2 separate regions of the Homo sapiens genome follow, and region 2 is linked to region 1. The links are contacts of gene promoters, found by promoter capture Hi-C in human tissues and cell types (Jung and others, 2019). All regions are on one chromosome and are shown on one strand. Each heading gives the region's core, a stretch centred on a gene start or on the middle of the fragment in contact. The rest is flanking DNA. Distances are from core to core; before and after follow the strand shown.

What was found. The method cuts DNA at HindIII sites, captures the fragments that hold promoters and counts their contacts. A contact is called where the count stands out against the background at its distance.
Region 2: a fragment that was not itself captured here is called in contact with the fragment with the promoter of IGFBPL1 in region 1 in 1 of the 25 tissues and cell types used here (dorsolateral prefrontal cortex).

The regions. Positions count from the first base shown.
Region 1 is chr9:38,422,190-38,427,404 of GRCh38, forward strand. IGFBPL1 (insulin like growth factor binding protein like 1) reads right to left here and starts at 2,265. Exons shown (of 5, transcript NM_001007563.3): 1 at 1,776-2,265. The coding sequence starts at 2,235. LOC105376041 (a long non-coding RNA gene) reads left to right here and starts at 2,422. Exons shown (of 8, transcript XR_007061487.1): 1 at 2,422-2,561; 2 at 4,461-4,574. RefSeq lists an enhancer at 3,310-5,215. The HindIII fragment of the contact is 5,843 bases long and covers 1-5,215 here.
Region 2 is chr9:37,307,082-37,312,296 of GRCh38, forward strand. The region is part of intron 5 of ZCCHC7 (zinc finger CCHC-type containing 7); the gene reads left to right. Among named protein-coding and RNA genes, the nearest start is that of LINC01627, 85 kb to the right of the region's middle. The HindIII fragment of the contact is 4,334 bases long and covers 959-5,215 here.

The DNA.
Region 1 (5,215 bases), core at 1,015-3,514:
GGAGCTGGTCATCCTTTACTGGTCACCCTGGACAAGGGCTCTGACCTTGCTGTGTCTCAGTCTCTTTCTCTGTATAACAGCAGATTTGGTCTGAATGTCTTTAAGGTGCCTTTCTCTTAGGAAGAGAATGCCACTCTGGGGAGAAATTATCTGAGATCATCAGCAGCATTTATAGTCTGAGGACCTGGTCAGCATTTCTTCTGTCTCCTGCATGTGGAGTTAAAAGTGTTACCTGTCTGGAGACAAAGAGAATTGCCTGTGAATTAACGGCTGAGGAAAGCAGTTATAAAAACGAGTGATAGGAACTAGCAAAAGGAAAGAGACAGGACTGTTTAAGTGCCACAGGGCGGAAACCAACTGTTCCGAGTGAAAGGGACCTCAACAATGACTCCACTGGGGCTGATATGGCCAGAGAGGGGAAGGGACCCGTCCAGGGCCACTCAGGGAGCCAGCGGCAGCACAGATGCACCCCCAGCCAGCTCTGTCCTCCATGGGGAGCTTCAGCTAGGAACAGCCAATGGTGACTTTCCTGTGCTCAACTGGCCACACACTGGTTTTACATTTCCCAGGACTGGAGGCTTCCTGCCCCATCTCCAACAACCCATTGCGTCTCCTGGACTTGGGTACATCTACCTGAACTACTTGAGAGGAAAGACTACTAGATACTTCTTAAGGCTTGGAAAGGTCTCACCCCACCCCAGGCTTCTTTCTTGAAGCTAAGTCATTACACTGACTTAGGCACTAAAGTCTGGACTTGGTCTCTGGGCTCAGGCCAGAATTATTTCCCAGAAGCCTGAACTCCAGGCCGAAACCCAGGCTCCTTGGGACTCACTGGCCACCTTCTCACTCACCCTAAACTCAGCACTGCCCACTCCAGGCAAAGTACACAGCGGCACTTCAAAACCTAGTGGGTGGAATACACTCATGCTTAGGAAGCCGGTAAAGCAGTGCTAACGTTTTGGTTTCTTTTTGTTTGGTTTTCAAAAGGTACATAAAGAGGGTGGGCAACTATAGCACTCAGAGATTATTTTACTGTGATGTTAATGAAGCTTAAGTTTCTAAGTCCCTAGCATTTCATAATAAGTTTCTAAGTCCCTAGCAGTTCTATTCCTTTACTTAAGGCAGGACTCTCCAAATTATATATGTTTTAGAAGCACGAAACCTGAGTCTGCCCCTAATAGCACCACAATCTTTTCAGACCTTACGTCTCCAAAGGTCTTACTTCTCCTGGATGGAGCTCCCTCAGCATCCCAGCTCAGCCCCTTCCCACACCGGGGGCCCTGGTGCTCTGGTGCTGTGGCCTGGTGACTACTGATTCCCCAGTCTGGAACTCATCCTCCTCCTGCATCCTCAACTTCCCTTCCTCCCCTATCCTCTACTTCCCTTCCTCCCCCAACCTCAACTTCCCTTCCTCCCCATTCAAACAATCCACCTAGCGCTGGATACCTGGGAACTCGGATCCCCCTCCTTAACTCCCAGTCTCCTGCTGGGCAAACATACCATGCCTACAAATAAGTGACTGCATCAGCAGGTACTTAAGTACCAAAAGGGGTAGCAGGCTCACCAAAAATTCGACTAGCACAGTGAGTGGCGTCTCCAAGGATTCTCGCCCCAGTCTCTCTGAGCACGAGGAGAGATATGAAATACTGCTCCCTAAGGGGAAACTGAGTGCCAGGCAGCGCCGTCCACCACTGGGCAGGGGGATCCTTCGCTCCACACCCCAGAGGGTTGGAATCCCTCCTTCTCTACCCACCCAATCCCCGACCCTGACTCACCGAACTCGCAAGGGCCGTCGCGCGCCTTGTGCAGGTGACCGGGGTGCGCGCGGGGCGTGTGCCGAGCGCGCAGGCGCAGCGCGCAGACGCTGGGGTACGAGCGACCGTCGGAGCCGCAGACGGTGCCGCGCTGCGCGCACACGCAGAGCCCGGTGCCCTCGGGCGCTGCCCCAGCGGCCTGGCTCGCGCATACCAGGCCGGGGCCACAGCGCCCGCCGGCGCGGCCCCCGCAGCTCGCGCCCTCGGCTCCCAGGCAGCGGGCGCAGCAGCCGCACTCGTCGAGCGCCGAGATCCCGGGCGCCGGGCAGGGCGCAGGCGCCGGGCAGCCCTCTGGCCGGCACGGACCACACTTGGGGCGCCGGCCGCCCACGTCGCGGATCCCAAGGCTCGGGGACAGCGGCGGCAGCAGCGGCAGCAGCAGCAGAAGCAGCAGCGGCAAGAGCAGAGACAAGCGCGGCATGGCTTGCTCCGGGACAGCGGCGGCGCCTCTGCTTCGCGCTCCGCTCCGCGCCCGCCGAGCAGTCACCGCTCCCGCCCCGCGGCCGCTGATTGGCCGGGCCTGCACCGCGGGGCGCCCGCAGACCGCTGCTCCAGCCCGGGACCCGCGCGGTGCCCGCGGCCCGGGTCTCCGAGCTGGAGGGTCGCCCCGAGAGCAGCTCTCCGACCTCCGATTGGACTCTTGAGGGAACCGAGACCCAGTCGGGGCGACAACTTGCCCGAGGTCGCTATGGCAGAGTCAGGATTGGATAACCGTACGGTCTCCGGATCCAAGGCTGGCTCCAGATAGTATGCCCGTAAATCCTCCCAGAAGGATGCGCTATTTTATTTAATTTTATTTTGCATTCAGTAGTTTTCAAAGTTTTATTTTATAAAGAGAATATATGGTTTAAAATGTAGATTTTACATATACATCTAAGGATGAAAAGAGGGTTACCCTACCACCTTGTATCCCCATCCTCCAACTCGGCTTCCAGAGGCCACTCTTGCTATCGGGTTTTTGTATATCTTTTCAGAAATTTTCTCTATGCCTATAAAAGTACATGTGCCTAAAAAAGCCCCTTCCTTTAAAACACACACACTCTGTTTCTCTCTCACACACACAGAGTAGCGTGCCATACACATTAGTCTGCACTTGGTTTTTGCACTTACAGTGTTTCACAGTTTCCCCACCTCTTGTCATCTGTGAAACTGGGTTTCTTATACAATCAATGGGAGCATAGTTCATTGGCTCTGTGAGTGTGTTTCTTAATGCTGCATAAAGTCATGGTACATCTCCGTCCACAGTGACTTTGTTGTGATGAGATATGGTGATATATTTTGGAGTTCATACAGAGTGGCCTTTCCACAGGGTTTAGTTGCAGTTATTTAACCACTTATTTTCCATCCTTTGGTTAATACGAATAATGCTTTGATGAAGTCTTGGTGCACAAGGGTCAGTGTACCTGTGGCTTACTGGGGAATGCATGTTGGAAAGATGCAGTTTCTTGTAGTCAGTTATTCATGCCGCCGTTGCGCCTTCTCTGGGCCAGGCTCTGTGCACACCATCCTGCCTGAGTTCTGGCAGGGCACCCAGACGAGAAACCTAAGAGAGTCTTGGCTGCTGGGATTTGATGTGTTGCTGGGTAAATGCACTGGATGGAGGGAGGGACTCGCTGAGCAGGTTTTATAGGAGACTTTTCCTGCCTTTACTGGCCACCCCTCATGTGTCTTGTGCTCTATTGTTTTTTCTTTGCTGAACTCCTGGAGATGGAGAAAGCCTCTTGCAGCCTGGGAAGACCAGCTACACCGTTCTTGGGTGGGGTTCATTTTGCTTTTCAAGCCCAGTTCCTTCCCAGTTTGCAGTCTTCTTATCCCCAGAAAGGAGCCTCTTCTGAGGCCACTTTATGTGGTGGTCAGAGGAGGGCCATCTGCCTGGTCCACGCCAGGCCTTACCTTACAATCAGCCACACAGAGCAGGGGCGGTTAGGCACCATGAAGGGGTGGTGGTAAGGAATAAATATAACAATGTTGGTAATGCACTCAGCGCAGCTCTCAGAACCTATCAACAGTGACTTTCAACCTGGAGGCTGCTGTCTTTACCAGGAGTGGCCTTTTAAAGTGCTCTCACCGCTTGACCCCTCTGTGCTCTTCCAGGAATCTCTCCTAAAAAAATGATCACTATGTGTGAAGATTTCATCCTGGAGTTGGTTACTATAGCAAAAAATAAATAAATAAATAAAATAAAAATAAAAAAAGTTAACGACCTAAATGCCCACCGAGAGGCAATCGTTAAATAAATTATGGTACATCTAACAATAGAGGATTATGCAGGCATTAACAATTAGAAAGAAAATATGGGTTAATAGAAATGAAAACATGTTTATAATACATTGTTTAGTAAAATAGCGGTTAAAAAGTGCACATCTAATGTAATGGCATATTTGTAAATATGTGAATGTGTAAACATGCAAAAATTTAAGATTGTTTTTAATGATGTGAAGGAAACCCTTTTTTTAAAAAAAAAAAAAAAAAGAGATGGTACCTCATTCTGCTGCCCAGGTTGGAGTGCAATGTCATGATCATAGCTCACTGCAGCCTCAAACTCCTGAGCCTCAAGCCGTCCTCCCCCACTCAGCCTCCTGAGTATCTAGGACTATAGGTGAGCACCACCACGCCTGGCTAATTTAAACAATTTTTTTTTTTCAGAGATGGGGTCTCACTATGAGAAGGAAACACTTATAATGTTAAATGAACAAAGCAGGATTTGCAAACAAAAGAGATAAGCGAACTCCATGCTGCTTTTCAGGGACAACTTTGCTGGTAAGTTCAGACTTTCTAATGGTTCATAGTTGTCCAAAGAGAGATCAGGCTGCTCCAGAGATAGTGAGGTCCTTGTCAAAGAAGGAGTTTAAGAATGAGTCTTGGCAAGGAGCATGGAGGGGGTCAGAAGTAGGGGTCAGGGGAGTTGACGTTTGATTACCTCAAACTGAGCCACCATTCCTGTAGTACAGTGCCCGACCCTGAGACCTGGACTGGACAAAACATGGTCATGATTGAGAAATAAATGTGTACAGAAATGATTTGCCTGCTTTTTATGCAGACATTAAAGGAGGAGTAAGTGAACGGTGTCATAATGAAATTAATGTGTGCTTAATGCAGGTTAGGATACACAATCTCACAGAGGCGCATTTACATATGATCTACATTCCTTTTAAATGGTAGGGAGAGTACTATGTATGCATAACGACTCTTTGAGAATTAAATCAGAAGACTCATTTTCCAACACTGAGCCTGTGGCATCAAAGCCCCTGTATCTGGGTGGAGAAAACATTCCCAAGCTTTGAAGGTGATCAGTCATGTCTATTTCCTTTTAAAATTGCCTGCAAGCCCATAGCCCAGCAGAGGCATTTGTGCTCTTTCATCTCTCTGGTTCCCAGAGTACCAGTTAACACTGTGGGCCA
Region 2 (5,215 bases), core at 1,876-4,375, 1.1 Mb before region 1:
GGCCTGATTCTTCTTATCAATGATTTTGCTGGTCTAATAGTCTAAGGAAAGAAGGACAAGGCAGCCATTACTTTAAATTGCAGCATATTAAAAATGCTGTTTTGGACACTATTTGCATTGTATTGTTGTAAATGTATATGGAGTTTAGTCATAATTTCAAAGACCAGAGGGCTGTTGAAATAAGCAAATACAGCTTTGATGTGGAATATGTAGTTTTCTACATTCAGTTTACCCTAATTCCTAATGAGTGTCTCATTAAGAGTCTTTCATTTTAGGTCTTAATTGCGTTTCTTACTACATAGTAACATATGTTTATTTTATATTAACAGCTAATCAGTACAAAGTCATTTTTCATCCTCATACCTAAGTGGCAATTCTAATTGATTTAAGGGGTATTTATGAAAGGGGTGTCTCTCATTCTCTTTTTTAAAGCATTACTTACCTATTTTTTAAAATAATAAAAGTACTTTAATATGTACTTCCCCAAAGTCATGATACGAAAGCAGAAATATTTTTCTAATTTTATTTATATTGAAATACACCTATAGTCTTTTTTCTTACAGCCCTTTTTAATGCATGTCTGAAATACACCTATAATCTTTTGCTCAATAAATTAGTATGGCTTTCTGTTGAAATGAATTTCAGATTAAAACAGATTAGAGTATGAGTGTTTGGTATATATATGTATTTCTCATGTAAATAACATGACAATTATTTATTGTAATTCCACCAGCAAATTTATACTTAAATTGTTACCCATTTTTTAAACAAACAGTGGTGCATTTAATAATGTTTTGGTAAGTCATATTTTATAAATGGAATTGTGAAATTAAAAGACGTACACTTATGTCTGGATAAGTATTGTCAAATTGCTCTTCTAAAAGATTGTACCAATGTATCTACCTACCAGCAGTGTTAAGAGAAATGAGCACTGCACTCATCAACATTAAGTATTATCAGTCTTTAAAATTTTTGGCTGGTCAGACCAAAAAATGATATTTTATTGTTTTAATTTGTATTTCTTTGGTTATTAATAAAGTGGTATATGGTTAATTAATTTGAATACTCTATTCTCAAGGCTATATAGATAGAAGTTGTCATTTCATTCCAAAGTACTTTAGTCTTATTTTTTAGTGTTTACCAAGTCTTAAAAATGATAAATCCTGAATTGTCCTAGCATTATGTTGTTGTCTGCATTAAGTTGTCAATTATAATTTTCTTAGCAAGATTTTCTAGTTTGGCAGTTATCTTTAATAGCATCTGTTTTTTTTTTACTGTTTTCTTCCAAAGAGCTCTGACAAATATGGTCTTATTTGCCTGTGATAAAGAAGGGGAGTAAGACATTATCATAGGCAATTTTTTAAAAACAAGAAACTGTACTACAGAACAGTTAAAAATTACTTGTAAAAGGTTATATAATCATCTGTGTTAATTCTATAGGCCATTCCTCTTAACTTCTTGATTTTGGCCTCTAATATATGTTAAATTATTATCTAAAATGAGAATTAATAATCCCAATGAATGTAGGTTTTTTTAAATAAGATTAAAATCATGGTATGCTCCTGTAATATCAGCTGCTCAGGAGGCTAATGCAGGAGGATCTCTTAATCCCAGGAGTTTAAAACCTGGTGGCTCACACTTGTAATCCTAGCACTTTGGGAGGCCGAGGCAGGTGGATCACGAGGTCAAGAGATCGAGACCATCCTGGCCAGCATGGTGTGAAACCCAGTCTTTACTAAAAATACAAAAATTAGCTGGGCGTGGTGGTACACACCTGTAGTCCCAGCTACTCAGGAGGCTGAAGCAGGAGAATCGCTTGAACCTGGGAGGCAGAGGTTGCAGTGAGCCAAGATCATGCCACTGCACTCCAGCCTGGCAACAGAGTGAAAGTCTGTATCCAAAAAAAAAAAAAAAAACAGCCTGGGCAACATAGTGAGAGCCTATCTCAAAAAATAAAATAAAATAGGGTTGGGCTGTGACCAGCTTCAGAGAAGGCAGTACTCTTTTCCCCAAATCTACCAGTATCTACTATATTTGTTGTAATTACATGGCGAAGGTTCTGGAAGCTGGTCTTTGTAGCCTACACACCTGGTGTAGGATTCCCTCGCAGCCCAGTCAAGCCTGGGCTCTACTGACTCCTTGTGGCAAGGCTCATAGTCCTTCCACCACCCCAGAAACTTCATGAGAATTCACATGGAAGCCGAGTCATTCTGGCCCCATGTTGTTGGAACTGTACATGCTTTAGGTCTGTCTTGAAACCTGGGCCTCCACAGAAAATTTGTTTCCTCTGCAGCCCTATCAAATGCTTGCTGCTCATCTTCCGTGACCCTGAATCTTAAGAGATGATATCAGCCTCTTTCTCACATGCCATGGCTGCTTTTAAGTCATTACTCAACCCTTTTTATGTAAATACCTTTGGCTTATTTAAGGCTTATACCCTCTAGCAATACTATCCTCTACCATTCTTTGTCATTTTCATCTTCCCACCTACTGGACTTTCTGCTCATTCACAGAGGATTTCTAACCTTTTATAAATTGACGATATTGAGAAACTTCCAAGGCTGGGCGTGGTGGCTCATGCCTGTTACCCAGCACTTTGGGAGGCCGAGGTAGGCAGATCACTTGAGGCCACAAGTTTGAGGCCAGCCTGGCCAACACAGCAAAACCCCATCCCTACTAAAAGTACAAAAGTTAGCTGAGTGTGGTGGTGCACACCTGTAATTCCAACTACTGGGAAGGCTGAGGCATGAGAATTGCTAGAACCCAGGACGCAGAGGTTTCAGTGAGCCGAGATTGCACCACTGAACTCCAGCCTGGGCAACAGAGTGAGACTGTTTCCAAAAAAAAAAAAAAAAATGAAAGAAACTTGCCCTTTTACTTTATATATTCCCATAGTCACACACCTAGACCTCTGTTTGGCCAGATTACCAGATATATGTATGCAAAGAGAATTTGTAGTGAAAACTGTCGAGTCATATTCAAATCCTTTCTGTAATGAAAAGCTTTTTCCTAAAATCTGTTGGAAATTGCTCATTGGTTAACTACTTCTGTAAAAGTATTTGGTTGAAATTCCAGAGTTTTATGAGGTGAAGGATAAAAAGATGGCTCAAGGCCTACTAAAGTCAACCTGCATCATTAGTCCCTTTCAGAAGACAAGAACCTGGATTATGGAAAGAATCCTGTTTCTGAATCTGCTATAGTTTCTCTCCTCACTTGCCAACAATTTTTAAATATACAGAGAATTTTTAAATGTCTGTATACCTTTAGCTTGCACACAGAAACCTATTCTGTGAGCTATCTCTGACATTTCCAAGATAACAACAGCCATACATAATTGTGTGTTTACTGTGCTGGAGGAGTGCTTCATTCACCACTATGCCCTTAGCATATAGTAGGTGTTCAGTAGATTTAATCCTCATAAGCAGGATATGAAGTGTAGGTACTATTTATTACTCCTATTTTACAAACTGAAAACTGAGACATTACAAGGTTAATAAGTCTAAGGTCTAAAAGCTAAAATGATGCTATACTTTATGACTATGTGGAGAAAGCTTACATATTGGCAATCAAGGAATCATCAGTTTATCTCCTACTCGGAGGATCTCTCAACTTTCTTTCTTAAATATGCAGATATTATAGCTCTAATAAGCAACTTTAATATAACACTCATGACATTGGGGCAACATAGTGAGACTCCCACTCTTTACCAAAAAAAAAATTTAAAAATTAGCCAGGCAGGGTGGCACGCACCTGTAGTCCCAGCTACTCGGGAGGCTGAGATGGGAGGATTGCTTGAGCCCAGGAGATCAAGGCTGCAGTGAGCTGTGATCACATCACTGCACTCCAGCCTGGGTGACAGTGTAAGACTCTCTCTTTTTAAAAAAAAAAAAAAAAAAAAATCAATATATTATAAAACACATAAAGAAAAATATTTTCCAAACAAAAATAAATTTTACCTTAGGTTGTCAGCACTTTAAAAAACCCCTGGGGATCAAGAAAGCAGTATAGAATGTTGATTTTCAGATACAGAGCCAATTCTGTGATACCATAGAGCTTTACTGCTCACAAGAGACCATTGCAGCTTCAGCAATCTTTATTAATTGTTCAGATTGCCATCCTTTTTTATTAAAGCATAATGACTGAGTTAGTCAGTGTCAGATATAATCAAAACCCAAACCTCCTAAATTTCCTACCTTTATTCAGCAATTTTTTTCTCAAATTCCCTGCTCAGTGTGTTATCCCAGTCCATGCTAAATAACTGTTAAAGTCTGATTTTTTAATACAGTGGGAGAAAATAATTCATAGAACATATTTCACTTGATTCCTTTATTTATTTATTTTTATTTTTATCTTTGAAACAGAGTCTCACTCTGCCGCCCAGGGTGCAGAGGTGTGATCTCGGCTCACTGCAACCTCTGCCTCCCAGATTCGAGCAATTCTGCCTCAGCCTCCCAAGTAGCTGGGATTACAGGCATGAGCCACAACACCTGGCCAATTTTTGTATTTTTAGTAGAGGTGTGGTTTCACTATGTTGGCCAGGCTGATGTCGAACTCCTGACCTCAGGTGATCTGCCCGCCTTGGCCTCCCAAAGCGCTGGGGTTAACAGGCGTGAGCTACTGCGCCCGGCCTTTTTACTTTTTTGATGCTAGAAAAATGCTCCCATATCAGCCATATACTACAATATTTTTCACAGTGCAAAAGTTTATTTTAAGGAGAACTCAGTTTAAACTGTGTAGTATTTAACATACACGTGAGTGCTCAATGATGTTTCTTCAATAAATATATATGTAAAATTGAAAACTAATGTCTTTTATTTAGATTTTTATTAAACTTGGAGATTTCCAGCAGGAAATACAAAGCATCTAGTACAAATCATTTCATACTTGTCAAATCCAGAATGGAGAGTTACTAGAGCATTATTTTTGTAAAGGTAATTATTTAAGAAACAGGTATTTATTTTATTTTTAGTGTACTCCAAGGAGCACTGAGTAGTATTCATATGATTTCCTCCCCTTATCCTTTCCACAGTCTTACTCAGATATGACTGGCCAGAAATAAGAATGGCTGAAACATATTATTGTGCTGAATAACTAAGCCAAGATTTGAATTTAAAGACTTGCTTAATTCACATATTTTGTGTAATGGCGGTTCTACCTTTATTCAAAAACATCTCCAGTGTTCTACCACCCAAATAAACTTTCTACATTTGTTCAT